Regions from separate parts of the Homo sapiens genome. Here region 1 is linked to region 2. Evidence: promoter capture Hi-C in human tissues and cell types (Jung and others, 2019). All regions are on one chromosome and are shown on one strand. The core of a region is centred on a gene start or on the middle of the fragment in contact, and the rest is flanking DNA. Distances in the headings are between cores, read along the strand shown. Region 1 overlaps SHANK3 (SH3 and multiple ankyrin repeat domains 3). Region 2 holds the start of RABL2B (RAB, member of RAS oncogene family like 2B).

What was found. Contacts are between HindIII fragments. The study calls those that stand out against the background at their distance.
Region 1: a contact is called between a fragment that was not itself captured here and the fragment with the promoter of RABL2B in region 2, in 2 of the 25 tissues and cell types used here (dorsolateral prefrontal cortex and mesenchymal stem cells).

What each region holds. Positions count from the first base shown.
Region 1 is chr22:50,725,183-50,730,194 of GRCh38, forward strand. The region is part of intron 24 of SHANK3 (SH3 and multiple ankyrin repeat domains 3); the gene reads left to right. Among named protein-coding and RNA genes, the nearest start is that of ACR, 11 kb to the right of the region's middle. The HindIII fragment of the contact is 4,655 bases long and covers 362-5,012 here.
Region 2 is chr22:50,780,656-50,786,088 of GRCh38, forward strand. RABL2B (RAB, member of RAS oncogene family like 2B) reads right to left here and starts at 2,981. Exons shown (of 9, transcript NM_001130919.3): 1 at 2,846-2,981; 2 at 1,533-1,692. The coding sequence starts at 1,639. It also overlaps the pseudogene RPL23AP82. RefSeq lists a silencer at 2,913-3,152. The HindIII fragment of the contact is 9,824 bases long and covers 1-4,613 here.

The DNA.
Region 1 (5,012 bases), core at 1,439-3,938, 56 kb before region 2:
AACCAGGGCCGCTGTTGTTAAGCCCCTTCTGATGACACACAATGGGCTTTTGCCCAGTAACGCCCCTCCACAGAAGTGGCAGGTGTGTGCATGGCACAGACTCACCCCCGCTGTTTACTGGTCATGTTTGTCATAAGTAGCACCTGGTGCCACCTGAGTGGCCTACCCGGGCCTGCTTTTCCTTCTCAGTTTGCCTCTGTGTTACCTTCTGTTCCAGCTCACTCTTCCTTTCACCCTCTTGCGCTCCTTCTCGCCCTCAGACCTGGGCTGAACTACAGCCATCTGGAGGGGCCCCTGCCCACCCTGGGCCCTTAACTTCCGGTGCTTCTGGCTGCAGGCAGCGGAGCGGAGCACAGGACACTTGGTGATGTCTGAGTCCAGTCCTGTTTCAGATCTGGTCCTTGTGTGCCCACCGTGGCTGTTGTCAGCTCTTGTCCTGCGGCCCCTAATGGCTGGAGTCCGGTACTCACTGCTCACTTAGGGATAAAACTGCTGGTGGAACTGCCTAAAGTGTGGGAGGTTCTGACATCCAGGTATGGCTGCTTCCTTCCCAGGGCCAGTCGTGGCAGAGGCGCTAGGTCACCCTCAGGGCCATACCCTGAGCTGTGTCTCCAGCCCCTTGTGTTCCACAGTGTTTGTCTCCCAGGCCCATCCTTCTCCTCCCTGACCGACACCATGAGGAAGGGAATGCCCACCCACCTTTTCCAGAGATGGCTCATTCCTGATGTGCTTTAGCCACAAGGTGTTCTGTGGCCTGAGAGCTTTCTGGACAAGTTAAGCTGTCCTGTATGTCGTGGAACCAAAGCTCGGTAACCTGTGGAAAAATGATGAGCTCTGGGGCCACCTTTGATTTTCAGGGGAACCTGGAGGATGTGGCACTCTCATGCTGCCTCTGGAAGGTCCAGGACCTTCGGCCTTTTGAATCCTCGATCCCAGATTGTCCACCTGCTCTGTGCTCCCAGCTCCAAGTCTAGCTCTGCTGGACAGACCATTCATCTGCCCAGAGCCCCTCCTCGGTCTCTGGGCCCCACACCTGACTCTGAGGCTACATTTGGGCATGATTCAGACCTGACTCCGAGCCCCACAACTGGCCACAGGCACCCCATCTGTCTGAGGCTCTCACTTGTCTCTGAGACCCTGGCTTCACACCTGGCTCTAAACTCCATTTGTCTTCCAGGCCCCGTGCTCGGATCTGAATCCCATGTGGGGTCTGAGGTCCATAGTAAGGCTCACGTCTGCCTTGGCACTTAGCTTTACATGGGACTCTCACATCTGGTTTTGTAGGTAAAGTTCATGGCAAAGTAGCTTTGGAAACACAAAAAGAGGTTCTTTGCTGCAGTACTTCTGGTGCCTTTGACAAGCTTGTGTGGAGGAGGGCACTGTGTGCCGTGGTCTCCAGACCTGCTAGAGTCAGTTCCTAGGTCTCCCAGAAGACCCATGTTCCTCAAAATGGTCAAGAAGCCCTGCCCTGGTGGCCTGCTGCAGACCCTGCCTGCTAATATATTTGTCAGGGCTCTGGACAAAGCACTGTGTGCTTGGTGGATCACACTGGTAAGCAGGGCCAAGGCCAGCAGGGCCTGCTCTTTTGAAACCCAGACTGAATGTGTCACATACCTGCCAGTGGGGGCCCCTGCAGGCCACATGCAGCTGGGGCAGGTGTGTTCCCAGGATCCCTGAACCCTGTTCGGGGAGTAGGAAGGAGGTACAGAGGAGGGGTCATAGGACACTGGGGCCCATCAGAGCTGGAGCTGGGAACAGGCGGGGTGCCGAGGAGCAAGACGTGTTACCGCAGAGGATGCACTGGAAGCTTCCGAGCCCATGTCTGGTTTTGTGCTCCTCTGAGAATTAGTTCCCTTAATGAGGCCCCTAGTTTGCAAAAGGCCACAGGCCTAGACCGGCCCCACGTGAGTGCAGTGGCAGAAGGCCCGAGGCAGTATCCCGGGCCCGAGTGTGGACATTTTCCTGCCTGTTGGCCCTAGTGGGCTGACTGAGTTGGGCACGCCTGGCAGGGACATGTCATACATACTATTTTTGCATTTTGTTAGTGCATCTCGTATTCCTGGCTTTGTGCTAGGTACCAGGAGGCAAGGAGAACTGGTAAGAAGTGGGGTGAAGGGCCTGAGACCATGAACGGTCTGGATCCAGAAATGGCAAGGGGTAAAGAGAAGGTCTGGGTTGATATTAGGAGTTAGCCATTGGCTGTAGGGTAAAAAGAGGAGCTGATGGTGGCTCCCAGGCTCTGTGTGTGGCAATGACAGGGTGCCGTTCACTGAGTTGGGGATGGAGGGACATGTGTGGATACCCCAGTAGAGGTGTTGGACTCATCAGAGGCTGTCTGGGTCTCACATGTAGCATTCCTGGGCACACTGGCCATAGCAAAGGGTGTGAGTGGATAATGTTGCCCAGGAGAAACTGCAAACTAAGAGGGGAGCTCTCCGAAAATCCATCTAGGAAGGAAGAGGCCTGGGAAAGAATGTCTCGAAGGGAAACATGAACAGGTCAGCAGCGGGGTCTTGCTGACCGCCTGGCCAACTGTGGGGCAGAGGGCGGAGTGGGGAGGGTGTGGCAAGGCCAGACCTCTCTCACTGGCTGAGAGTCACTGGGAAACAGTGAGACGGTGCAGGATTCAAATGTAGGTGGAAAGACGTGGGGCCGTGGGGGCCTCAGTGTGATCTGGACTCAGCCTCTTCAGCGTGGCTGCTGGAGGTGTTCGTGGGTGACGGTGCCTGGTGAAGTATCATGTGTTAGAGGGTGGGTGGCCCAGAAGCTCTCTGGGAGGCTGGCAGGTGCTGTGATGTGGCTGTTTGGCGGCCGGAGCCTGGCCAGGGAGGTGGCCAGACGGCTGAGAGTGACAGTGGGTGTGCAGAGAGGCCATGGAAACATGGAAGTCAGACATGGACACTGCTCGGGTTTGTGCCCTGGGGATGGTGTGGGCAGTACCCTCTTCCCCAAGAGAAAGAGGAGAAGCAGACACCTGGGCCATGGGTGACCCCAGGCCCCTCCCTCCTGTGCCCTGGGGCCTTTGGCAGGCACAGCCTTCCTTGGGCGTTTTCTCTTGGCCTCCTGACATCTCCAGCATGCTCTGGGAGGCGGGAGCAATGTGAATGGCTCTCCTCACATCTCTTGCCCTCGGGCCCCTGGCTCCGTGGGTGCCTCTGGAGCCAGCCTGCCCTCTGCCCAGGTCTCCAGCTCAGCCCCTGCCAGTACTACCCAGACAGGCACAACTCTGCTCTGCCCAGCTCGGACCTCCTGGAGCCCAGACCCTGCTCTGGGCTCCGGCCGAGCCTCCTGGCTGCGCTGCCCGCGCCTGCCCTGTGCCTCTGCCTTCACTGCTGTGGTCCTGCAACTCATCAGTGTGCTTCAGTCACACCTGAGACTCCAGGTACACCTGCCATCACAACTCCACTGAAAGCTAAGCCTTGGGGCAGGGGCAGGGCCAGGGTAGGTGTCCATCCTGTGATACAGGTCCCCAGGCCAGGGCCACTTTGTTGGGGCTGGTGGGTGGAGGCCAGGTGCATATTCCTGGTCCTGCCCCTCTCTGGGTGTCCACAGTCAGGTCCCTCTGAGTGATTCTCTCGGAGTCTCCTCTGGCAAGCCCCTCCAGCAGTCACCACCACCTGGGCACCCACCCCCAGGGGACCCCCCGACCCAACACCACCTGGCACCTCCCCTTGGGAATCCCCCCAACCTTGGCTGCCTCCCCACTTTGGCCCACTGTGCAGGTGGATCCATGGAGGCCAGGTCCAATGGGAGCAAAGACAGCTTATTCTGGTGGTTGGTGCCTGTGCTGAGGCCCACCTCAGGTGTTCTTGAAGCCCCTTTCTGTTTGGGGGCACAGTGTGGCCTCTTCAGGAAGTTCTGCTCTGGATCTGAGCAGCTGGGAGGAGGCAGTAGGGACAGAGGCTGAGGAGAGGACAGAAATGAGGTCCCATGGGAGAGACAGAGCTCAGATCTCCACAGAGGGCTGACCTCTCACAGGTGGGAGACAAAAGACGAAACCTGCTTTAAGGGGAGCCCCATGCGTGTGTGGGGCAGGCACTGGTGATGCTGTGTGGTGAGGACAGCCTTTAAGGGGAGCCCCATGCCTGTATGGGGCAGGGACTGGTGATGCTGTGTGGTGAGGACAGCACAGAGGTTGGGGTGGGGGGACTCAGCCTGGGCAGGGGCAGGGAGAGGGGGTGGGAGGGCCACTGGAGAGGGGCCCGGCCAAAGAGGATGTCAGGGGCTCAGCACCCCCAGGCGGCCAGGCACCTGCCGAGCACTGCAGCCACGCTTGTGGTTCACCTGCACTTGGAGACTCTCGCACAGGCGCCTCTCCTCCACCAGCAGCTCCAGCTTTGTCCCTCCCACAGCAGCTGGGCCCTCTGCACCTGAGTTCCTCCCTCCACACCTGGCTGCCCATTGTGTGGTTGCAGCTGTGGGTCGCGTGGGCCTGGCCGGCTAACTCTCTCTCTCATTGCTCTCTCCTGCCCATCTGCATGTGGCTGCTCTGTCGAGCTGCGCCGTGGTCCCGAGCGCCGGCTGTGTAAGTGAGCATGCCCATCCCATGCCTCTTGCCGTCCACACGCTGTGCCTGTCTGCCTGGGTCTCTGCTCTGCGTGGCTGTGAGAGGCTCTGGTGCCACTGACAGCCCCTTGAGGCTTCCCCTGACACAGTGGGGATAGGGATGGGAATGGGAGGACATGGGAGTGGGTTTTCTCTGGAGCTATCACCCCAGGTAGGCCTCCCACCACGGCAGAGCCAAGGAGGGGCTAGAGCTCTAGGGTCCTGTCAGGTGAGGCTGGGAAGTGAGCTGCCATCGGTTCTTGTGTGTGTGCGTGCGTGCATGTGTGCGTGTTGCGTGTCTGCGTGTGTGTGCTGCTGCCACCGCAGCATGTCTGTAACGCGTGTGGGCACCGTTGCTGCTGTTGTGTGCCGTCTGTGCAGGAGGCTGCCTTTGTGTTGAGGGTGTGCACGGCCTCACACCTGCCCTGCATGTGCTGCTGCTCCATACGGGTACGAGCCCTGCCTAG
Region 2 (5,433 bases), core at 1,731-4,230:
GACAACCTTTTGCCTGAGATACTGCTAGTGGATGAAGACTGCCTTGTTTTCTAATTGTTGTGTCTGTGGAGGCCAATGTTATGGTAATCTTTGACGTCAAGTTAACTACTTGGATTCTTATTTTTTGTTACTGTTTGAAATGAGGCATATAAAGAGACTAGCATTGAACTTGGGAGCTGGGTATACCAAGATACATTCTCCGAAAGTTCTGTTTGTTATTAAAGTGGCAATTTGCTTTACACCTGCCTGCCATTTCTATTCTTTGTTGTTTTTAAACTTGAGTGGGGATAAAGGGGGTGTTATTTATTGGGTAACCTTCCCAAACTACAACACCTACCCTCACTTTTACTGTACAGGCGTGCTGTTGAGGATGGTCAAAGTAACTATAAAATACTAAACCAGAGGCCGGGCGCGGTGGCTCATGCCTATAATCCCAGCACTTTCGGAGGCTGAGGTGGGCGGATCACAAGGTCCGGAGATCAAGACCATCCTGGCTAATAAGGTGAAGCCCCGTCTCTACTAAAAATACAAAAATAAAATTAGCTGGGTGTGGTGGCAGGCGCCTGTAGTCCTAGCTACTCGCAAGGCTGTGGCAGGAGAATGGCGTGAACCCGGGAGGCGGAGCTTGCAGTGAGCCGAGATCACGTCACTGCACTCCAGCCTGGGGGACAGAGCGAGACTCCGTCTCAAAAAAAAAAAAAAAAAAACTAAACCAGAGCTGCAGTATGTGATTGTGTGGTGGGGAAGAGAGAGAGAGAGAGAGAGAGACAGAGAATTCAAATTCATGGAGATGGCCTAAAAACCAGCAAAGCCCCCAGAGAATTATTCACAGCTACCTGAGTCAAAGGACTTGATTATAAAAATGAAGGTAGAAACCAAGGTGGGCCTGGAGTACTTGGGAGATAAACGTGACCACTTCTCTGGGCAGGGGCAAGTGTACCGTCATGCTATGAAGGCAGAAATGGACATGTGCCCTCAGCAGTCCTAGGCGTGAGAACTAGGACGTCTCATGGAGACAAGCTGGCAGCACGGCAGAGCCTCCCTTCACCTCTCCGGGTGGCACGTAGGCACCGAAATTCATTACAAGAAGAAGCCAGTCTTCACAATGATTATAGTCAATCGTCAGTTCTACCCAGTTTTCTCTATTTCAGAGAGTCCCTCCAAGAAAGCATCTTTACCACCTTTACCCAATCTGTCACGGTGGCATAGTCACTTTTGTCTTTCCATTCCCACTCCCCGCCCTTGCCATCCCTCAGCCCACAAACCACATACAATGTCCTCAGTTGCTCCACACGTTCTCTCAGGGCTCAGAGGAAACATTCAAATTCCTCAGTCCTTATGACCTGCCCCCTCCACCTGACACACACAACGGCTCACGTGATTCCCCTCGTTCCCCCATGAACATCTGGGCTCCAGCCAAGACTGCTCCTTCACCAGCCCCAAGAAGCCATGCTCCTCTGCCTCTGGAGGACTTTTTAAATGACCTGGACCCTCTCTGGGGCTGGTATTTATTCCCTAATCTCCCAACATACTTGGATTTGCCCACTGCGCTGTCTCCCAGGCAGATGATCTTCACGTTGTCATCAGCATCATACTTCCCTTGGTCCAACTCACTCGGTTTGGTTTTGTCTTCTGCCATTGGCTCCTAGCTGTAGAGAGGGGTCCAGCCCAAGGGAGGGGAGGGTATTGTCACTGTCTGGGAAGATCAACAAGAGGCTGTTGTCAGAGATAAGTCCCCTCAACCAAATCTCCAGCTGTACCTCCCTCCAGACTGCTTCCCTCAGTGCCAGACTGAGATATGGTATGCAATTGACTACTAGACTTGGAGTAGCAGAGTATGACACACAGGCATCAATAATATGTTATACACAAATAGTTAAGTCCTGCGCACCCCAAATGCTGCTCCTCACGTTACCCATTTGCACAAGACATTCACCAGGCATCCAGTGCCAAAGGCTGTGTGCAACATTATGTCTAGCTCTGTTTTACTCTCCTCACACCTAAATATGACTTTGCAAACATTCCTGAGAATGTAACCACAGTCCAGACTCTTAGCTAGGGGGGCACATAGAAATGATATGATGATGAGACAGCAGCAATAGGTGAGCCTTACTGGGCATTCACCATGAGCAGACCTTGCACAGGGTTCAGAGGATGGAAGACACAATGATAGCAGAGTCTACTGTGGTGAGAGCTACGACAGAAGTATGCACACGGGTCAGGGGTAGAAAATACCAACAGGGCCCCCGAGTTTTCCTGACTGTGCCACCACACAGCTACTGCTTCTGCACAGCCAGGGACTTCGCCTTGTTTATCCAGGGAGACAATTCCTGGGAAGTGGCAGATGCCTGGAAAGCATGATGAGGGGTCTGCCCCCTTTCACCTGTACCCTGTAGAGAGAGCGACAGAAAGCCAAATCCAGCTTCATGGCTCCATGCTTGAAGACGTTCTTTCTTTTGTTTAGAGATAGGGTCTCACTCTGTCGCCCAGGCTGGAGTGCGGTGGCGCGATCACGGCTCACTGCAGCCTCCAACTCCTGGACTCAAGCGATCCTCCCTCCTCGGCATCCCTGGACTATAGGCGTGAGCCACCGCTTACGGGCGAAGACTTGCTTGTCCGTGTCCTTGCCATCTAAGTGGGTAAGCTATCTTTCGATAAATGTTTTTGGCCACCAACCATGTCCAGGCATCGCCAGGCTGCCCGTCCCGCCCCCCACAACAGCCTCGCGAAGCCACCTTTCCGTGCTTCCCCCGACCCGGACGCCCTCTCGCCCACACCGCTAGGGAGGCCTCGGAGGGGCTGTCCCCGCGTGCTAAGCCAGCCACCGGGGCGGATTTGCCCTCACGTGCGGTTCCGAGTGAGGGCTGGAGAGACCAGGGACGCTGCGGGTCGGCCCCTCGGGCCCTGCCGCCAGTCTGGACTCTGCGCGCTCTCGAACCACGCCCGCCGGCCCAGCTCGCGCCGCAGCGCACTCCACTTCCGGCTCGGCCCGCGTCCTCGCAGCTGCTACGCAACCGCACAAGGACCCCGAGGGAGGCTGCCCGGCCGAAGGCCTGAAGGACCCCGCCGGGGCGCTGGCTGCCCAGCGCGGCGCCTGGCGGGAGGGCCGCAGGGAGTGCGCATGCGGCCGAGTGCGGGACTGGGGCTCCTGGCTGTGGGTGTGGTACCGAGGCTTCAGCGGGTGCCGCCCGCCTAGAGGGAGTGGAGCGGTGAGCACGTCAGGGGTGGGGGGCGCAGGTCAAGCTTTCACCAGTTTTTAATTCTTTGATGGGGTAAATTTGAGCAATTTTCTCGACTTGTCGACATTCGTTATTAACTGAGCAGGAATCAGGAGAGGAACCCGGTCCTCTCCACACAGCCCAGCAGGTACGCCGCCCATGTGCCTGTGGAGAAGAGAGGTTCCTGTGGGGCAGACAGGTGTGGACCAAGTAGCTGCGAAATTTCTTCTGAAGAAAACACACAAGGGGGAAGCGAGTGAGCTCAGTGGAGGAGGGGCGCTACCCCAGGGGACGTCCCCATGCATGGGCTTGTGAACCTCGAATATGTGAGACGGTCTCAGTCAATTTAGAAAGTTTATTTTGCCAAGGTTGAGGACGCACGCCCGTGACACAGCCTCAGGAGGTCTTGACATGTGCCAAAGGTGGCCGGGACACAGCTTGCTTTTATACATGTTAGGGAGACAGGAGACATCAATATATGTAAGATGAACGTTGGTTCCCTCGGGAAAGGCGGGACAACTCGAAGCAGGGAGGGGGCTTCCAGGTCACAGGTAGGTGAGAGACAAACTGTTGTATTCTTTCGGGTTTCTGAATAGCCTCCGCAAAGGAGGCTATCACATATTAACCTATCTCAGTGAGCAGAGGGGTGACTTTGAATAGATGGGGAGGCAGGTTTGCCCTAAGCAGTTCCCAGCTTTTTTCCCTTTAGCTTAGTGATTTTGGGGCCCCCAGATTCATTTTCCTTTCACAGGCTAGACAGCTTTAGGAACTGAAAGGTTCACGAGGCTGTAACGAAGAGTCGAGTTGCTCCAGGTGAGCCTGGGCCACAACAGCACGCAGGACCTGGGCGCCCACGAGGGGCTCCTGGGAGGGTTTGGGAAAGGGATGTGTGAACCCTATCTGAGATGGTTTCAGGTAATTTAGAAAGAGGTGCACCCGTGACACAGCCTCAGGAGGTCTTGACGACATGTGCCCAAGGTGGTCAGGGCACAGCTTGGTTTTAGGGAGACATGAGACATCAATCAATATATGTAAGAAGTACGTTGCTTCCATCCAGAAAGCTGGGGACAACTGGAAGCAGGGAGGGGGCTTCCAAGGTCACAGGTAGGTGAGAGACAAAGGTTGCATTGTTTTGAGTTTCTGATTAGCCTCTCCAAAGCAGGGAATCAGATATGCACCTATCTTAGTGAGGAGATAGGTGACTTGGAATAGAAAGGGAGGCAGGTTTGCCCTGAGCAGTTCCCAGCTTGACTTTTCCTTTAGCTTAGTAATTTTGGGTCCCCAAAATTTTCCTTTCAGAGAGCCTACGACTAGATTTGCATCTTTACGTCCTGCGCGGAGGCTGCTACACACATGCAGAAGTCATGCTGGTGGCCTGGACAGTGAAGGGAGAGAAGTGGATTTGGGAGACATTTAGGAGGTAAGATTGCTAGGACCTTGGTGATAGCTTGGACATGGAGGGTGGAGGAGGAGGGGTGTCTAGCAGATAATGCTCTTAGGTTACCACCTGGGATATTAGGGAGAGTGAGCAGGCTGTTTTTTGTTTCTTAGGCAGAACTTGGTTTTGCGGTGCAGTAGGGTGCCTGGAGCCGAAAGCCTGACTTCCTCATACAGGCCAGACCCCACATGTGACTGCCAGGCCACTTTGAGGCTGAGAGAGATGGTTTTGTCTGGCCTCTGTCCTGCACGTGTTTACGGATGACCTCTGTGTTGGCAGATTTGGGGGTCCGCCAGATAGGATCCTGTGAAGAGACCTCAAAGGTCTTTAGTCCAATCTATAAAACATTTTTATGTTGATTATATCATTTCCACAATCAAAGATGAAGAATATATACAGAGGTGTATTTAGTGAATAAGGTTGATGGTGCACCTGCGCTAGGCAGTGTTTTAGTTCGTTGAGACACCAGGGAGTTGAGACAATCCTTTACCTCAGAGTTTTGTGTCTGTAAGTCCTGCTGTTGAGAGGTGTGTGTGTTAAAATGTCTGATTTGGGCAGGTGAGATCTGGGCCCTCTGTAAGGTTAGGTAACAGGAGGTTGGTGTCCAGCAAATATTCAGTGCCCCATCAACATCCCAGTTCTTGTCCACCAATCTTCCAATTCTAGGACTGATGCGGAGGCCCTCAGAGCGACTTCAGAGGAGAAGTAGTATGCTCTGTGGCTATCTTGTTTTGGAGTGTAATTTGTAAATCCTCTGCAAACAAAACGTTGGAAACA